Regions from separate parts of the Homo sapiens genome. Here region 1 is linked to region 2. Evidence: promoter capture Hi-C in human tissues and cell types (Jung and others, 2019). All regions are on one chromosome and are shown on one strand. Each heading gives the region's core, a stretch centred on a gene start or on the middle of the fragment in contact. The rest is flanking DNA. Distances are from core to core; before and after follow the strand shown.

Region 1 (6,111 bases), core at 1,214-3,713, 530 kb before region 2:
ATTTCAACGTCAGATTTTCCTTGGAATGATACACTTGCAAGGACATATCTGTGATATTCTAGTCAAAGGGCATACCTTTAATCTAATCTTGAGAAAACATCCCAACTGAGAGACATTCCACAAAATGAACCATTATTCACCAAAAATGTCAGAGTCTTGGAAGAGAAGATGAACCATGTCAGGAACTGTCACAGATTGAAGAAGACTAAAGAGACATGACAACTAAATACAGTGTGGGATCTAGAAGTGGATGTGGGAACCAAAAAGGGCGCTGGTGAAGCTTAAACCAGGTCTGTAGGCTAGTGAGTAGGATTCTACCAATACTAATTTTGATAATCATACAATGGTTATGTAAGTTGACCTTAGAAGAATCTGAGTGAAGAATTCTGTGAAATCTCTGTATTTATGCAAGTTTTCTGGAAGCCAAAAATTATTTCAAAATAGTTCTTAAAAAGCGGTTCTTCCTAGGTAGCAGAATAAAGATAGATTTATATTTTATAGTAGTATAAGTAATACTATATTTCAAAGTAGCTGATTATGTTAAGAATTAAGAATAGCAATTTAATGTTTCTATTCCTTCCCCAATATTTCTCCCTTTCCAGTTTTCGAGGGTGCTATACAACCCATGGGTAGAAAGTTTGGTACAGTTTTATTTATAGATTTAAAAATAGAAGCATAATAATTAGAGATTTTTAGCATATATCATTGTGTTATTAGGTAGGTCTTGGAATAGAGAGTATATTTTTCACATTCAACTTTATCCATGTCCATTAAGCCATGATGCTTCTTACCTCTAATTCATTATTTTAAATAGGTATATTTTTCCCCACTATATTACATGAAATAAAGTTGAAACAAAATATTAGAGTAAGTCATATTCTGAATTTTGTTTGTTGCTAGTCATAGGAGAAAAAAAGAAAAATCTTCCATGCTGTCCTCAAAGTTTTAAAAATTCTTATATTAAAGACACAATAATGTGTTTCTAAGGTATTGCCTAAATTCCTGAAAATTTTAAGGCATCTTTTGTTTTACCTTTTCAGAGTGTTTTTCTTCTGCACATGCCCATTGCAATTAATTGGTATTTTCCTTGAGCCCACACTAAGGAAAGCTACCCATGGGAATTAGATCCCAGTACAACATACTTTTCATTTGTTACCTTTAGTTTTGTATTTTATTGTTTTAAAAAAAAATCATTCTAGACTGTACAAGCCTGAAACTAATCTTGACTATATCTAATGTGTAAGAAATAAATGCTTTTTGTGTTAACGATTTCTGATCATCATATAAGCTTTAAGAATAAAGGAGTTTTATATTTCCATTGACAAAGTGCTGACACATTGATAAACAAGTAACTTTAGAAATAATCCCTAAGAATTCAATATGTGCTTTAAAGTTTTGCATTATTTATGTGTGCCTAGGTGATGACTGTCTGATTTATGCTCCAAACCTGTAGATTTTCTCCTTTAAGCAAATAAGAGTACATCATGATTAATAAGTGATCTCTGAATTAAGCTCACTGGACACATATATATATGTGTGTGTGTGTGTGTGTATATATATATATATATATATATATATAAAATTGTTAATGGCATTTTGATTTAGGCATTTTAGTAAATTTTCACTGTTATCAGAAATTTTATCTTGTCATCTATAGAGTAGACGGGCTGGACACTTTGGAGAACTTTTATAGTAACTGAATTGTACTACTTCATGATTTTGTAAAGAAAAGAGAAGGTAGAATTTTCTAGAATACTATTAAAGCTATGTAGTAGTCTCCAAGCCAGAGAAGTAAAAGCGGTTACTTTAGGTAGTGTAAAGTTGGTTCCCATTCATTCTTGAAGGGAGATGGAGAGGAAGGGAGGTAAATCAGTCAGGAAATAGAAACCACATCAGTTACCTAAACAGTGGAAGTTTAATACAAAGAGCTTCTCACTAGCAGAAAATGATTAACTACTAAAAGAGGTAAAAAGAGACTCAGGGGTCCAGAGATACTATGTGCAAAATATCAGCTACTACCTCGTCTAGGGTGCGGAAGAGTGGATAGTAAAGTGACTCAGGACTGGGAGAGGCCCTCCTCCAAGGCTAAGATTAGACTTCTTTAAAGAGTCAGTGATTCCTAGGGGAACATCGGGCTTGTAGATAATGAAATTTGCCAAAGTGGCCTACCGCTGCCTGTGAGTGGAGGCAGCTTGTTGCTAATCTGGAAGTTTCTTCAGGGATGGGGGCTAGAGCTGATGGGCTGGTCCAAGCTGGTCTATAGACACAGCCTGCCATTTTCCAAGGGTTAGGCCATCCACAGCAGCTTGGGGAGGGAAGTGTTTTTCCCCTTGCCGGATCTCTCCATTGACCTCTATCAATGAAGCTTAACATTCTGCCAGCTGGCAAAGGACATGTTTCCAGAGTCCAGCTCCAGTATTGCAAAGCAGTAGGTAAACAATGAATTTAGAGCTGAGATACTATACATTGCTAACTGTTCTAGAAGGAATAATTTACTGTTATAATTCTAAATACAGTCTCATAAATCAAAACTTTCACATCACTAAAATTTTATTATCTGCTTGGTTCTTTATAATGCTAATCATGGGCTAGGCATGATGGCTCATGCCTGTAATCCCAGCACTTGGGGAGGCTAAGGCCGAAGGATTGCTTGAGGCCAGGAGTTTAACACCAGTGTGGGCATAGCAAGACCGTGTCTTTGAAAATTTTTAAAAATAATAATGCTAATTATATTCTCTATAAATAGTTATTATAATGTCATTGTCTTAAGTTTTGAAAGGACAATCCAGAAATTGTTCTCTATTTTGTTGCTTTCTGGGAAGTACTCTTATCATAGCTGGGTAGATCTCTAGGCAGTATAGTCATGGGGTAGGTTTGAAAACCAGGCCATGCCTCAAAAAATGAATTCTACCTCTGTAGAGTAAGCACAACTAACTCCATTTTGCATTTACAGATAAATAAATGATGGTTGGCAACTGTTGTCCCCAAATTTGCATTTCAATGGCCTAGTAATGTCCCATCGCTTACCTAGTACTTCACAAGGATGTTAGTGATAAGGAATAATTAATGATCTGTTAACAAGATCACATCTTTGATTATAATGTACAATAGATGTACAAATTCTATATTTAACTTTTATTTGCCTTTTAATTGCTATGGATTTCTGAGCCTGCTACTAGGTGCTTTATCAGACTGAAGAAATGGTCCCTATAATCTCTTATCCTCAGTCCCAGTGGTCATTACAATGTATTTTCTCCAAAATAGAAAAGGCAACCTAGTTGCATTGTATGTTGTAAAATGTTGGAGTGCCATCCATTTTAGCTGCGGTTGTCAGTTCACTGGGACAGCATTCTGGGAGTAAAGAAAGAATAAAAATGGCAAGCAGAGGATTTACTAGTGTCTTTGTGTTCATGGTTTGAAGGGCGAATACTACTATTGGCAAGTGGAGAATTCTTCAGACTTTTAAGTGCTACAGAAGAGTTTCAGGCTTGTTAAGCTCAAGCTCATTTAAAATTCTACTTTGTCTGACTGACCATCACATCACAAAGCAGTCTGCTCAGAATGTCACCAGTGTCAGTTCTGTGACCTCCGGAACTGCATATAGCAGTTGGCTTGAGTTGAACAGGCCACTCTGCTTCTGGGAAGAGAAGAGTTCTGGGCAATAACACAAGTCCTAAAATATTGATGTGGCTACTTCTAAAGTATAGCAATATTACATAGTTATATGCAGTGTGTCATTCAAGCTGTTTTCATTGCCCAGAAATCATAGTGCTGAGCCTATCTTTTGTCAATCAAGTTAATTTTGGTAACTACAAAGTAGAGTTTGCCTTTGTGGACATTTATATAGGGACATGTATATATAATTATATAATGTGCTTATTTAAAAGCTATATTTTTTAAATGCTAGACAAAGATTGAAATGTTATTGTCTTATTTAGTACCTCCCTTAAATCATGTACAGACAGACATCCAGGTAAACACAGATGGAAACTCTGTGATTTTTCTGTCTGAATGCCTGTGTTGCAGGTGTAGTGGTATTAAGGACTATTGTATCAAATATTAACTTGTGTCATATGAAATTGCCATTTTTGAGGGTCAAAGATGGTCAAATATTGGCTATTTCACATGGCTCATCCTAATAGTAAATTTTCAACTGTGCTAGGATTTGGAAGTGCACCAGCTTTTTAAAGCAAATTATATAAACCAGAGCTCAAATTAACAACTGGACAAAAGACAGACAAGTATGATGTTAAGGGAAGTAAAAGGTAATGAGTGACTTATGACTCAGTCTTTTACTGCAGCAGCATAAGGAAGGTGTGACTCTCATCACTGTATCGATAGAAAGTGTTTTGGTTAACAGATTTTTTCATTCTCTCAAAAATGCGTTTTATGTCTAGGAATGTGTGAATTTTTGCAGGTTCTTTCAAACTTGCTTACGTGGTTGCCCTCCTGACACACCACCCAGTAGGTTCTTATTTCAGAACCTTTCTGAAATAAATATTGGCCTTTCTGACTTAAATATCAAGGTGATTGCCCGTTGGCAGCATTGTGTATTAATGCCTTGGGTGGTAGTTACTTGCTTTTGTTTTATACTTAATAGCAACCTTGCCTAAAAACATACTAGAGAGTACCTCATCAACCGTTGAGGTTTTGCATCTTTTATTGGTCTGCCTTTATTTTCTGATATTTTCTAAAGATGGTGTTTCACTGAGGTCTTTTAATTCCATGAATGAAGTTGTAATTAGTTCGGTATTATTTTTAATAATCTTCATTCTGGTGGTAAAATTCACTTGTTGTTTTGAGAGTTGAGCTGTGGATAGTAAGTATCCATTAATAAAACAGTAGCCAATTGGTATATTTGTTTTTCATTTTATTTTTATTATTTATTTATTTATTTATTTACTTTGAGAAGGAGTCTTGCCCTGTCACCCAGGCTGGAATGCAGTGACGTGATCTCGACTCACTGCAGCCTCCGCCACCTGGGTTCAAGTGATTCTTCTGCCTCAGCCTCCCGAGTAGCTGGGATTACAGGCATGTGCCACCATGCCTGGCTAATTTTTGTATTTTTAGTAGAGACAGGGTTTCACCATGTTGGCCAGGCTGGTCTTGAACTCCTGACCTCAAGTGATGCGCACTCCTCGGCCTCCCAAAGTGCTGGGATTACAGATGTGAGCCACCACACCCAGCCATTTTTCCATTTTCAATGGAAGTTGGATTTGGTGTTCTGTCAGATTCAAGAAAATTACTATGGACCACAAGTAGATTCCTTGCCATCTCACTGGTGATAAGCAATCATTTTGTTCTGTTATCCAGAAATGAAGTTATTTTAAAAATTTGGTTGTGACCTCGTTTGATTCCACCTTCCATGGTTCAAAATCTAGCTAAATTACAATGTGCTATTCAGAGAATTTTTTATTTCCTGACTCACAGCTTAACCTTTAAAGTGCGGTTAATGCAGTGTTTAGTTAATGCATTGTTTAAAGTTGATGGATTGATAAATTTGCAGAACTCTTTTATCTTAAATATGAGAATGCTCAAAATAATTTTTTTTTTTTTGAGATGGAGTCTTTCTCAGTTGCCCAGGATGGAGTGCAGTGGCGCGATCTCAGCTCACTGCAACCTCTGCCTCCTGGGTTCGAGTGATTCTCCTGCCTCAGCCTCCCGAGTAGCTGGGATTACAGGCACCTGCCACTATGCCCAGCTAATTTTTGTATTTTTAATAGAGACGAGGTTTCACCATGTTAGCCAGGCTGGTCTCTAACTCCTGACCTCAGGTGATCCGCCTGTCTCATCCTCCCAAAGTGCTGGGATTACAGGTGTGAGCTACTGTGCCTGGCCTCATAATAATTTTTAATGCAGTGTATTTTTCAAAACCTCAGCTATTAGTATAGTTTTTAATTAGAAGTGTTCTGCATTTAAGCTTAATTACCTCTAAACTTGCTAACAATAATAGCCTAACTTTTGGGGCAACAATATGTTTTTTGTAGCCTTTTGATTTCAAGATACTCATGATTTTTTATGTGACATTATTAGGTTTTTACAATTATTGCCCCTGTGCAGAGTGGAGAGTGGCAGCCATTCCTGCTTTCCACATGTGGAAACCAAGATAAA
Region 2 (6,584 bases), core at 1,314-3,813:
ATGGATTTTGGGTTGAAACATAAAACCTCAAACCACCATTATAAAAACAACGTGAAAAATCTGCTTTAATTCTAGTCCAATGAAATTATACACAAAGAAGCCAATACGATTTCATGATTTCCCTGAGATCGCCAATATTGATCGAGGGAAGGCGGAGGGATGGTGGGAGTGAGGGAGGAGGGAGGGAGGAAGGAAGGAAGCGAGGCAGCGAGAAAATGCAACTCACCTTTCTGCTCCCAGGCACACCGAAATATAATTCCCAAAAGCAGGTTTATCTCAGTGTCCTGGCAAATGAGTTTAACATTTTGAAAATTTATTTAAATGGCAATTTATATACCTAGGTTTCTGTATGGAGGAAGCATCAGCCTAGGGTAACTGGCCACTCCTTGAGACTGAAGCCAGCAGAGCAGCAGAGGCTACCTTAGCACTGGGGCATATCAGACCCACTACTTCCCAGTTCTGCTTCTCTCCTGCTGTATTTCAGTCCCTGTGCACTCATGGACCAAGAACAGGTTGCACTCTCGTGAACTTTTGCTCAACTCAGTATTATATTTCAAACATTAACTGACTCAAATCATCCCAAGTGTCCAGATGCCATATATAAGGTAGGGAGTGCGAAGAGAGACAGTAGGAGGGGGTGAGGAGGAGAGGAAAAACAGAGAAACCAAAATCTGAGTTATTTTACCTGGCTCCTGTTGTGACACTAGAGATGTGAGCAACCAGAAAAGTATGTCTGGCAAACCAGAGGATCTGCCGCTTTCTTACTCAGGCTTTGATAACACAGAGAAGACGCTATTTGAAAGAATAATTGGCAGCGTATTGGCCAGAGCTCAATGAAGTTGATCTATGAATAACGTCACTGTACATTCATGTGACAGGGTGGGGGTGGGGGTGTTGCTCTGAAGCAAGAAGAGAGAGGAGGGCGGCAGAAAAGGTCACTGAGACTAAGAACTGTTTTCCAAATGAATCAAACCTTTCTCTGGCACCAAGAAGGGACATACAGTATTCCGAGCTCTGCCCTTGTTTTCTTATCAAGTTTTCTCTAACAGCTGGAAGTGGTTGAAGGGGGCTGTCTTAAGGAGACCCCCTGCTCTTCTTTTGACAGCTGATCAAAAGAAAATAGGTCACGCTTCTCAAACTTATGTCCACCCTGTCCTTAATTACTGTCTCTTTAAACAAAGGCAACATCTGCGCAACCTCAGCTAGCTTGAATCTTCGGAGGCAAACAGAGCGCAACCTGCTTTGGAAGAATCTTGTTACGTTTAAGGCTTTATGCCGGGTGTTGGCCTCTCTGTCTTCAACTACCCCTCCACCCCGACTCGGACTGCAGAAATCTCCAACTCTCTGTCCCCCAGTTCCACTCCCACCTCCAGACCTGGGGTTGCCAAACAACGGAAATTCTAGGAAGACGTAGGTGCGGTTTTTAAAGCCTTGGCTTGTGAGCGTTCTCAGGCTGGCCGGGGCGCTGGTCTTTTCAGAAACAAGGTTTGAATATGCAGGTGTCAGCCAGGATTCCTTGTCGTCTGCCCACCGCCGTTTCTCTCCCGGGATTTGAGAGAAGCGGGAGTGTGTGTGTGTGTGTGTGTGTGTGTGTGTGCGCGTGTGTGTGTCTCGTGTTAGGAGAAAGGTCCGTGGTTGCCGTCTCAGCTGGTTTGCTTACTCTCTGCCCCCAGGAGAAGTTTGCTCACTTGGGACACCAGCGACCCTCCTCACCTCCACCTCACCGGTTCTACACTCTCCCCACTTCTTTCCAAGTCGCTGATGCAGAAAGCACTTGGTCACCTTGAAACGGCAGCTCCCGGAATTCTAGTTTTGTTTTGCAATCTAGCAGGGCTCTTCGGAAGCCTCATAACTGAGATTTATGGGCTCACCGGGTAATTAAATGATGTTATTGTGTTAACTTTGCATGCATTACTGCTGCCCGCGCCGCCCGTGGGCCGCCGGCCGGCCGCAGCTCGCTGGCGACGAGGGCACTACAGTTGCTCTGACCGCGTAGATTATGCATGTCCCGGCCTCGGGAATTTACCATGCATTAGAATACATTAGCGCCTGCATTTTAAAAGGCTAAACTATTGGCTCCCAGCTAGGGACTCTCGGTAAGTGGCTTGTTAGTGACGAGTGTTTGTCTATACTGGCACATAGCGGAGTCTTTTGCTCCCGGCTTACTCGCCTCCAGGAAAGCTTTGGGGTGAGGCGAAGGCGATTGAAGCAATGCCCCTTCCCCCAGATCGCAGCTGCTCAGGGGGGACACAGCACGGCATCTTTCACCGAATCTCTCTCGCTCGCTCGCACTCCAGCCTCCCTCTCCCCAGCGACCCCCCCACCTTCTCCTCCCTCCCTCTCCTTGACGTTTGATTCCAGTAGCAAAGGAGGTAAAAAAGGCACCGAGCCGTCAGCCAAACCTGAAAAGTGCGGCCCCGCCCCCTCCACAGCCACTGGTAGCTTCCCGTGGAAGGCCCGCCTCCCGGGGCAGCTGCGGCCTCGGAGTGGTTGCGCTTGGCGCCCGTCGGGCGTGGCCCCGCCCCAGGTCCGGGAGGGTAGGTTGGCTGCCCCGGCGAGCGGCAGAGCCCTTCTGGACAGCTCCCGCTCACCCAAACAGAAGACGTCGGCGCCGGAGCGGGCTCGGACATGGCGAGGCTGCGAGCCGGCCCGAGCGGCGGGGCCCGGTGATCCCTCCCTCCCTCCCCGTCCCCTCCCCTCTCCCGCACGCACGCCCCGTCCGCCCCCACCCCGCCCCCACCCCGGGCGAGCCCGCCCGCAGCCCGGGGCGCACACCCGCACGCGCACTCCTCTCCACTCACTCCCGCGCCCGCCCCCACTCCCGCAGCCGAGCCCCGCCACGCGCGCCTTGCCCGCCCGCCGGCCGCCCCCGCCGCCCCCGCCGCCCCCGGGCCCTGATGGACTGAATGAAGGCTGCCTACACCGCCTATCGATGCCTCACCAAAGACCTAGAAGGCTGCGCCATGAACCCGGAGCTGACAATGGAAAGTCTGGGCACTTTGCACGGGCCGGCCGGCGGCGGCAGTGGCGGGGGCGGCGGCGGGGGCGGCGGGGGCGGCGGCGGGGGCCCGGGCCATGAGCAGGAGCTGCTGGCCAGCCCCAGCCCCCACCACGCGGGCCGCGGCGCCGCTGGCTCGCTGCGGGGCCCTCCGCCGCCTCCAACCGCGCACCAGGAGCTGGGCACGGCGGCAGCGGCGGCAGCGGCGGCGTCGCGCTCGGCCATGGTCACCAGCATGGCCTCGATCCTGGACGGCGGCGACTACCGGCCCGAGCTCTCCATCCCGCTGCACCACGCCATGAGCATGTCCTGCGACTCGTCTCCGCCTGGCATGGGCATGAGCAACACCTACACCACGCTGACACCGCTCCAGCCGCTGCCACCCATCTCCACCGTGTCTGACAAGTTCCACCACCCTCACCCGCACCACCATCCGCACCACCACCACCACCACCACCACCAGCGCCTGTCCGGCAACGTCAGCGGCAGCTTCACCCTCATGCGCGACGAGCGCGGGCTCCCGGCCATGAACAACCTCTACAGTCCCTACAAGGAGATGCCCGGCATGAGCCAGAGCCTGTCCCCGCTGGCCGCCACGCCGCTGGGCAACGGGCTAGGCGGCCTCCACAACGCGCAGCAGAGTCTGCCCAACTACGGTCCGCCGGGCCACGACAAAATGCTCAGCCCCAACTTCGACGCGCACCACACTGCCATGCTGACCCGCGGTGAGCAACACCTGTCCCGCGGCCTGGGCACCCCACCTGCGGCCATGATGTCGCACCTGAACGGCCTGCACCACCCGGGCCACACTCAGTCTCACGGGCCGGTGCTGGCACCCAGTCGCGAGCGGCCACCCTCGTCCTCATCGGGCTCGCAGGTGGCCACGTCGGGCCAGCTGGAAGAAATCAACACCAAAGAGGTGGCCCAGCGCATCACAGCGGAGCTGAAGCGCTACAGTATCCCCCAGGCGATCTTTGCGCAGAGGGTGCTGTGCCGGTCTCAGGGGACTCTCTCCGACCTGCTCCGGAATCCAAAACCGTGGAGTAAACTCAAATCTGGCAGGGAGACCTTCCGCAGGATGTGGAAGTGGCTTCAGGAGCCCGAGTTCCAGCGCATGTCCGCCTTACGCCTGGCAGGTAAGGCCGGGGCTAGCCAGGGGCCAGGCTGCTGGGAAGAGGGCTCCGGGTCCGGTGCTTGTGGCCCAAGTCTGCGCGCCGAGTCACTTCTCTTGATTCTTTCCTTCTCTTTCCTATACACGTCCTCTTTCTTCTCGTTTTTATTTCTTCTTCCATTTTCTCTTTCTCTTCCGCTCTTCCCCTACTTTCCCTTCTCCCTTTTCTTTTTCTTTCTTACTCTCTCCTTGTCCCTGAGCTTTCATTGACCGACCCCCCCCCATTTCATTCGCCCTCCCCTCAATGTGCCAACCTTTGCCCTATTTCCGATCTTCCCAGGTACTGGGAGGCGGGATGGGGGTGTGCGTTTTCCTCTAGGAGCCCTGTCTTTCCAAGACCCACAGAAACCAGGACCTGCCCTTATTCAAAACCCCATGCACTTCAAGTCTCTTTTAGACAACACATTTCAATTTTCCGGGCTGACTAGTCTCCCTGTGCAGAGGCAGTTGAGAGGCTTTGCTCTGCAGAGGGAAAAGAGCTCTCTACTCTCCCACCCACCATATAGGCAAACTTATTTGGTCATTGGCTGAAGGCACAGCCTTGCCCCCGCGGGGAACCGGCGGCCAGGATACAACAGCGCTCCTGGAGCCCATCTCTGGCCTTGGCGTTGGCGCAGGGACTTTCTGACCGGGCTTGAGGGGCTCGGGCCAGCTCCAATGTCACTACCTACAGCGAGGGCAGGGTGTAAGGTTGAGAAGGTCACATTCACCGCTTTGGGAGGACGTGGGAGAAGAGACTGAGGTGGAAAGCGCTTTGCCTTGCTCACCGGCCGTCCTTGCCCCGGTCCCAGCGTTTGCTGGGATTTGCCAGGATTTGCCGGGGCTCCGGGAGACCCTGAGCACTCGCAGGAAGAGGTGCTGAGAAATTAAAAATTCAGGTTAGTTAATGCATCCCTGCCGCCGGCTGCAGGCTCCGCCTTTGCATTAAGCGGGCGCTGATTGTGCGCGCCTGGCGACCGCGGGGAGGACTGGCGGCCCGCGGGAGGGGACGGGTAGAGGCGCGGGTTACATTGTTCTGGAGCCGGCTCGGCTCTTTGTGCCTCCTCTAGCGGCCAAGCTGCGAGGTACAGCCCTCTATTGTTCTAGGAGCACAGAAACCTCCTGTGTGGGCGGCGGGTGCGCGAGCTAGAGGGAAAGATGCAGTAGTTACTGCGACTGGCACGCAGTTGCGCGCTTTTGTGCGCACGGACCCCGCGCGGTGTGCGTGGCGACTGCGCTGCCCCTAGGAGCAAGCCACGGGCCCAGAGGGGCAAAATGTCCAGGTCCCCCGCTGGGAAGGACACACTATACCCTATGGCAAGCCAGGGTGGGCGACTTCCCATGGATCGGGTGGAGGGGGGTATCTTTCAGGATCGGCGGGCGGTCTAGGGGAACAATTCGTGGTGGCGATGATTTGCATAGCGCGGGTCTTGGGATGCGCGCGGTTCCGAGCCAGCCTCGCACAGCTCGCTTCCGGAGCTGCGAGCTCAGGTTTCCACCCCCGATCCCCCGGGCTTTCCTCGCACCGCTGAGCCCAGCTTGTGGGGTGCACTCGACCAACGCCCGACAGGGCTGGGGAATGTGACAGGCAGCAGGTTCACCCGGGCTTGGGGAGGGGGAGTTTCCGCTTTGACAGCATTTTCCTTTGCCGTCTGCTGGTGGATTCCTATTCCCAGTCGGTAATCGCCCCGCAGTGTTGATCTAAGAAGGTAAAGAAAACTAGGTTTCCCTGCAAAGAGCCTCCCCCAAATCGGCGGACTCCGGATACTTTGAGTGGATTTAGAAATTTATGTAATCTTTCTCCTTTAGTTTATTTTTCATCCTCTCCTACAGTTTTCTCTGATTTGCTGTTGGTTCGGGGCAAGATAAAGCAGCCAGTAGAGAGCGATAATAATAGCGGCGGGAAATGAACTGGAGACTGGCTGACAGTTCTTAACATTTTGTCATAGATCCCCCCGAATGTCCCAGGCTGTCTCTGGTGGGTTTTAGTACCCGCCGGCTTCTTGGGCACCGGGGACCAGAAGGAACTTGGCAGCTGGTCTTAGGGGTACAGTTAAAGGCAGGATGACAGCTATTCTCCTGCTCATCTCAGAGCGCTGCCGCCCCCTCATGCCGGTCGCGCAAAGAACACAGCTTTTAAAAAACACGTGCCTTCTGCCCATATAGGTCTGAAAGTGATGAGGAAAGTAATGCTTCGCCTATTAGCGAGTTTCAGCTTTTAAAATGATCCCAAGCGTTGCTGAGATGAGAAAGCGTGGCATCCCGGGGGTCCTCAGCCCCACCCGCGCCCATGGTGCAAGTCTGCAGGGACAGGCCCGGGACAGCACTGCCCACGCTGCTAGATTTTCCGCAGAGGATCGCTGAAGCTGCCTTCGTGGGAGACAGAATGCCTCCTCCAGCGAGTGGAAAAGGCCTGCTGAGGACCCCGCTTTGCTC

Evidence for each region. Contacts are between HindIII fragments. The study calls those that stand out against the background at their distance.
Region 1: a fragment that was not itself captured here is called in contact with the fragment with the promoter of ONECUT2 in region 2 in 3 of the 25 tissues and cell types used here (dorsolateral prefrontal cortex, mesendoderm cells and small bowel).

What each region holds. Positions count from the first base shown.
Region 1 is chr18:56,898,532-56,904,642 of GRCh38, forward strand. The region is part of intron 21 of WDR7 (WD repeat domain 7); the gene reads left to right. Among named protein-coding and RNA genes, the nearest start is that of WDR7-OT1, 140 kb to the right of the region's middle. The HindIII fragment of the contact is 3,358 bases long and covers 785-4,142 here.
Region 2 is chr18:57,432,811-57,439,394 of GRCh38, forward strand. It overlaps ONECUT2 (one cut homeobox 2), which reads left to right and starts at 2,564. Exons shown (of 2, transcript NM_004852.3): 1 at 2,564-4,134. The coding sequence starts at 2,907. RefSeq lists enhancers at 1,290-1,870, 1,871-2,450, 4,565-5,320, 6,077-6,584 and a silencer at 2,444-2,493. The HindIII fragment of the contact is 18,346 bases long and covers 1-6,584 here.